Regions from separate parts of the Homo sapiens genome. Here region 1 is linked to region 2. Evidence: promoter capture Hi-C in 16 types of primary human blood cells and fetal thymus (Javierre and others, 2016). All regions are on one chromosome and are shown on one strand. Each heading gives the region's core, a stretch centred on a gene start or on the middle of the fragment in contact. The rest is flanking DNA. Distances are from core to core; before and after follow the strand shown.

The links. The method cuts DNA at HindIII sites, captures the fragments that hold promoters and counts their contacts. A CHiCAGO score of 5 or more calls a contact.
Region 1: the fragment with the promoter of CYP3A4 here is called in contact with the fragment with the promoter of TRIM4 in region 2 in 2 of 17 cell types (erythroblasts and neutrophils); the score reaches 7.3 in erythroblasts.

The regions. Positions count from the first base shown.
Region 1 is chr7:99,782,500-99,785,664 of GRCh38, forward strand. It overlaps CYP3A4 (cytochrome P450 family 3 subfamily A member 4), which reads right to left and starts at 1,685. Exons shown (of 13, transcript NM_017460.6): 1 at 1,512-1,685. The coding sequence starts at 1,582. RefSeq lists promoters at 1,633-2,937, 1,633-2,047, 1,635-3,165, 1,680-3,165, a silencer at 1,756-1,813 and an enhancer at 1,834-1,857. The HindIII fragment of the contact is 7,327 bases long and covers 1-3,165 here.
Region 2 is chr7:99,917,825-99,920,887 of GRCh38, forward strand. TRIM4 (tripartite motif containing 4) reads right to left here and starts at 1,706. Exons shown (of 6, transcript NM_033091.3): 1 at 1,185-1,706. The coding sequence starts at 1,577. It overlaps LOC101927610 (a long non-coding RNA gene), which reads left to right and starts at 1,779. Exons shown (of 2, transcript XR_001745296.3): 1 at 1,779-2,003. RefSeq lists a silencer at 1,278-1,437 and enhancers at 1,568-1,617, 1,648-1,727, 1,968-2,077. The HindIII fragment of the contact is 3,942 bases long and covers 1-3,063 here.

The sequences.
Region 1 (3,165 bases), core at 435-2,934, 140 kb before region 2:
CCTGAGTCTGTAGTGACCACCCCACAACATGGCAGACCACACACAGAGTGACACAGATGGTGCCTCTGTGTCCAGGCTTCAAGCAGATGAGATGCAAACATGTTTGTCCTTTGAGTGACCTCCACTACGGGGCCAGGACCCATGAATATCTCTTTGGAGTTCTACCCTGAGGGATGAGGAATATTTTCTTACTCCATTTTGATCCTACCTGGATGCTTTTGCTGTCATCACTGGCTCACAGTCTTGCTTACTCCTCTGCCCTGAGCGTTTAACATAACCTGCTAAGCAGGTTTGTTTGAAATAGGGGTATTAAAATGAACGTTGGGAAGGTATATTTTAAAAGATATATGCAATCTTGTCATAGAGTTATACATTTGTGCATTAGATTCATATTCCTGACATGATTCTGGAAAGGTGAGGTTATTTTACACACATTTATTGTAACAAATACTGAACTAACAGCCCTCATTTGTCACCTAGAAGGAACATGTTGGAAATAGACTATCTCCAAAAAAATCTGGTTTAAAATAGAATGAATTTAAGCCATATCAATTAGTGTTAAAAGGTCAGAAGATGGAAAATATGTTGCCACAACTCACTGAATTTCTAACCTTTCTGTGAAAGAATTAAAATGAGGTTTATATTTTCTATTTTCCTGTCATTATGATTCCCAAATCTTAGTAAGAGTGAAATTGAGGTAGAAGTGAAATGTGACATGTGAGAAGCCTCCACTACCCACAGTGGGGAGTGACTCTTCTCTCTACCTGCTCTAGGATGGCAGGATCCCACCAGTGAGAGGATTCATCCTCTTCTACTGCAACATAAAGGGGAAAATGTAAAATCCAAATTCTAGTTTAGTAAGGAGAAGCCAGGTTTCCACAGCCAAGTTTGGAATGAGATCCGTCACTACTTTCCTTCCTTATCCTCCTTGGGTCCAAACTATTGTCAAGTAGATCATCCTCAATCAATGCTATCCCAAAACCCTTCTTGCCACTAAAGATGGATGGGGAAGATGCTTATTTATTCCTTTATAGAGCTGCATAAGATCTACAATAACCTCTATATGTTTGTAGCATCCAACACTTAAGCTACTGCTCCTTGAACATCTTTTTTTTTTTTTTTTTTTTTTGAGACAGCCTCACTCTGTCACCCAGGCTGAAGTGCACTGGCATGATCTCAGCTCACTGCAACCTCCGCCTGCCGGGTTCAAGCAATTCTCCTGCCTCAGCCTCCCAAGTAGCTGGGAATACAGGCGTGCACCACCATGCCCAGCTAATTTTTGTATTTTTAGTAGAGACAGAGTTTCACCATGTTAGCCAGGCTGGTCTTGAACTCCTGACCTCAGGCAGTCCACTTGCCTTAGCCTCCCAAAGTGCTGGGATTACAGGTGTAAGCCACCACGCCCGGCCTGAACATCTTTTTTGATCTTCAAAACAGATAAGGGAAAGAGAGGCCTGATTAGCACCCCAAGTCCAAGGAAACAGAGAAGAGGAGCCTGGACAGTTACTCACAGATAGAGGAGCACCAGGCTGACAGCCAGGAGAAGCCAGGTTTCCATGGCCAAGTCTGGGATGAGAGCCATCACTACTTTCCTTACTTATCTCTCTCCTCTGAGTCTTCCTTTCAGCTCTGTGTTGCTCTTTGCTGGGCTATGTGCATGGAGCTTTCCTGCCCTGCACAGCAGTGATTCAGTGAGGCTGTTGGATTGTTTATATGCTAGAGAAGGAGGCAGGGCTGGAGCTGCAGCCAGTAGCAGGGCCACCTGTGCTCTGCCTGCAGTTGGAAGAGGCTTCTCCACCTTGGAAGTTGGCAAAGAATCACACACACACCACTCACTGACCTCCTTTGAGTTCATATTCTATGAGGTATCATAAACAACTCAATCAATGTTACTGGGGAGTCCAAGGGTTCTGGGTTCTTATCAGAAACTCAAGTGGAGCCATTGGCATAAAATCTATTAAATCGCCTCTCTCCTGCCCTTGTCTCTATGGCTGTCCTCATTCCAAAATACTTGAAATTCATCCCAACAAGCCACACCTACAGATCTTTACCTATGCCTGGAGTGTGCCTGTGCCCCCTAGAAGACTCCTACACATCCTTCCAAACCCAGACAGACAGAGCCTTCTCTTAGAGTCTTTCCTCACCAAACTCCTCACACAGATGTAACCATTTCCTCCCCTGGGCACTTTCCATCCCCTTCATGCAATCCTATTGTCCTCTTTCCTCTTTACCACCATTGTGTTTCCACGCCTGTTTCCCTGAACAGAGGTGAGCTCCTCAAGGGCATAGTCTAGTCTTATTCCCTGTCATGGCTCTGGTCCCTACCAGGGTGCTGTACACACAGTGGGCAACTAGAAAGGCTGGTGGAGTTGACTTAGCTGAGATTGCTGGGCCTCTGCATGTCATCCCTTCTGACTTTCTGGTGACTTCTTAGGTCATTAATACAGCCAGAGCTCTTGGCTGTGCCTCAGCTGCTGTCTCTGCACTTTCAGGCTGGTCCTCTGTGATTCTGTTGGCAAGGGGACCCCTAAAGGAGAGACAGGGCATGGATGAGATGGAGCTGATGGCTTGGTGGAATAGTATCAATTTGTGCTGCTTCCTGTGAACCCTTCAAAGGTCCTGCCATAGATAGCAAGTTAGACAGGTTCTTTGCCAAAGAGTGGCCCCTTCTCTCTGGAAATACTGCATGTCTGGAAACAGGAGAGAAAGGAGAGAAGAGAACAGCTGCCCAGATAGCCAGATGGACCCCAACCACCTCAGCCAGCAATGATGGGGCAGTGGTCACTGCAGGTCACACAGCATCAAGGACTCCAATAAGATGGTCCCAGCCTCTTGGGGGTGGAATTGGAGTTCAAAGCAAATGGCTTCCTTTTTGACAAGTGGAGGATTTTCTAATGGGAGGAGGGCAGGCCCCAGGAGCTGGTAGAGATGAGGCCTGTAATAGCAGTTGCTGCCACCTGTGAGCTCCCTGACCCATTCCTGATGGGAGAGATCTCAGTGATGAGGGTGTGAAAATTATATCAGCTCATTATCGTCACTCACACCCAAGTTCTGTGTCTGCCTGGCCTGATGAATGGATTGCATGACAAACAAAATCACAGCGTTCTTAAAACTCAATAGAAATAGGCGATGTTTAAGCTGTGCTTGTTCGCTTCCTTCTCTCTT
Region 2 (3,063 bases), core at 456-2,955:
GGGTGGGGCTACTCTGGAAAGGATGATCAGGGAAGGTCTTCAAGCTAAAAGCTAAAAGGATCTAAAGGATAGATGTGGGTAGAGAAAGAGAACAGACTTGAAACAAAAGCAAGAAAGCCAGTATGGCTGAAGCAGAGTAAGGTAAAGTGATTTATTCAACCGGAGCTTCTTAACCCATGAGATAGGACAGATAATCCCCAAATTCAAATGTTACAGGATTTTCCCAACTGATGAAGGAAGCTAGTAACAAAACCCAGCCTCATCATTACAAGCTAGGCTTTTCCCAAATCATCAGCTGTCTATGACATTTACAGATACAGACAGGCACTGTCCAATACAGTATCCATTTAGCCATACAAGCACCTGAAACGTGGATATTCCAAACTGCTATGTGTTGTAAATGTAAAATACACACCAATTTCAGACCTATTATGAAAAAGGAGTATAAAATATCTCATTGAGGCCGGGCGTGGTGACTCACACCTTAATCCCAGCACTATGGGAGGCCAAGCGGGGCAGATCACTTGAGGTCAGCAGTTCGAGACCAGCCTGGCCAAGATGGTGAAACCCCTCTATACTAAAAAACAAAAATTAACCGGGTGTGGTGGCGTGTGCCTGTAATCCCAGCTACTCGGGAGGCTGAGGCAGGAGAACTGCTTGAACCCCGGAGGAGGAGGTTGCAGTGAGCCAAGATCACGCCACTGTGCTCCAGCCTGGGCAATAAAGTGAGACTCCATCTCAGAAAAAAAAAAAAAATCTCATTGATAATTTTCATCTCAGCTTTGAATATTTGGGGTAATCAGATTAAATAAAATATATTATTACAATTAACGTCACCTCGTTTCCTTATCTTACCAGAAAGATTTTAAATTACATATGTGGTTTCTATTGGACAGCAGCGGCACACACCCTCTCAGTATGTTTTTCTTTATTATGAGCTCCCCAAGGGCCAGTTTATTGAAAATTCTGCACAATGATTGCTGAGGTTTGCACCTCCCCTCCTCTCATTCCAGTTTTAACCCTAGCTCTGAAATTCGTGTTTTGCTTAACTTCTTTGAGTTTCAGGGGCTTTTCATGCTTCCAGTAGGAATGACAGCCACTTCGTGGCTCTTTTAGGAGCATTAAGTAAACTTTATCGGGCAACACTGACAGCCCCGTCATAGTCACCGCGACGGCCAGCTCACCCGGTAGCTCTCGAAGGCCTCGTCGATGGGTGCCATGGCGTGAGTCTGGTGCTCCTGGGACTCCCTGCACACCAGGCACACTGGCCGCTGGTCGTCCTCGCAGAAGAGCCGCAGCGGCTCCCAGTGGCGGCCGCACAGGCCCGGGGGCACGGGGCCCAGGCGCCGGCGCTGCGTCTTCTCAGTCAGCCTGGCCAGGGCCCAGTTGGGTCGCAGCGCGGCGGGCGCCGATGGGTGCCGACATTCGGGGCAGGGGAACGGGCCGCCGCCCGGCGCCCAGTTGCGGTGCAGGCAGCCGCGGCAGAAGTTGTGGCCGCACTCGATGGACACCGGGTCCTGGAAATAGTCCAGGCAGATGGGGCAGGTCAACTCCTCCTGGATGTCCTCAGCTTCCATGCTGCTTCCCTGCCGCGGAGACGGAGTCCGACGTGAGGCGCGGGAGAGGCCAGCAAGCTGCGAGCGGCCGCGGGGAGGCCAGACGACTTCCGAACCGCCGTCACCGCCTCACGTAAAAGGGTACAACGCAGTTTCTCTTCCGGGGTTCAGGACCCAAAAAGAACGCACGGACGTTGCCCGGCCTGAGCGCGCAAGACCGGAAGCTGCTGGGTATCCGCGCCGGAACCGCGAGGGGGTTGGTTCAGGCCTAGGCGCGGGGCAGGACGGGACCGGTGAGTGGCTCCTCCAAACAGCTATAGAGACCCAGAAATGCCTGTGGAAAGCTACAGAGGACTTGGGCAAGGCGTTAGAGCCGGACGTTGTGGTCCCTGGGGGAGCCAACCGGGGAGGTGCCTATGATCTTTCTTTCCAAGTTTGAGGGTTCAGGTCTGTGTTCGCCTGCTGGTTAGACCGATTTAAGTTTTAGAGTCCCAGGAGTTCTGGGCGAGCTGCAGCCTAGGGGCCTGGAAGGCCAGGAAGACTTGAAGGATCTGTGTTGGTAGGCCTGGAGTTTGGCTAACGTGGGGATGATTTGGATTCTGAGATGCAGATACATTGCCTTTTTGGTATCCAATTTGAAAAGTAGCAACCATTTTGCTATCCCAAAGAACATCCATGGAGGCTTTCAACAAATAATATGCTCACCTGTTTCAGGGAATTATCTATATCCCTTAAGTGGATTTTCGATCTTGTGTTTCTGAGGTGCTTTGCTTTTTATTCTTCCCACTTTCTTCCTTTTCTTGTGAATATTTGTTTAAAACAAAAAAAACTCTGGACTGACAAATTTAATAGAAGCTATTTGCACAAAGAACAGTTCATGAATTGGGCAGCACTCAGAACCAAAAGAGGTTCAGAGAGCTCTGTCCAGCAGTATGACCTGCTAGCTTTTATAGGAAGCAAAGTAGAGAAATCACCTCATTAGCTAACATCTAGGTGTCTGCCTTATTTGACAATGATATGATGAGGCATTTGCCTTATTGGGGCATGGTCTGATCAGTTGGCTGTCTGTTATTTGCTGAAGCTCGGCCGTGATTGGCTGAAACCCAGCTGTTATAAAAAATAAAGTAAGTTAGGCTTCAGTTCGTTTACATACTAAGTCAGGTTGTATTTTGTTATATGGGAACTCAAGTACCAAGACAGCCTCAGGCTAATGGGCTTTTGCTTATTTAACAGATTTTTCATTCTTTTTATGTCCCAATATCAAATACTGCCTTTCCTATAATAATTTTTCTCAGTAAGTAGTATGATTAAATGATTAGAAAAAGGGGTTCTTGAGGTATCTGTTTGGGGGTTATTGATGAAAGTTCCACTGAATATTTCTAAAACATTTAAATTGGACAACTAATGAATGGATTTTCTTTGCAAATTGGAATACTCTATGGAGAAGGGATCTGGTTCTTTAATAGGGACCAAGCAGGAAGGAATGCTCTTAACAGTTACTGATGTT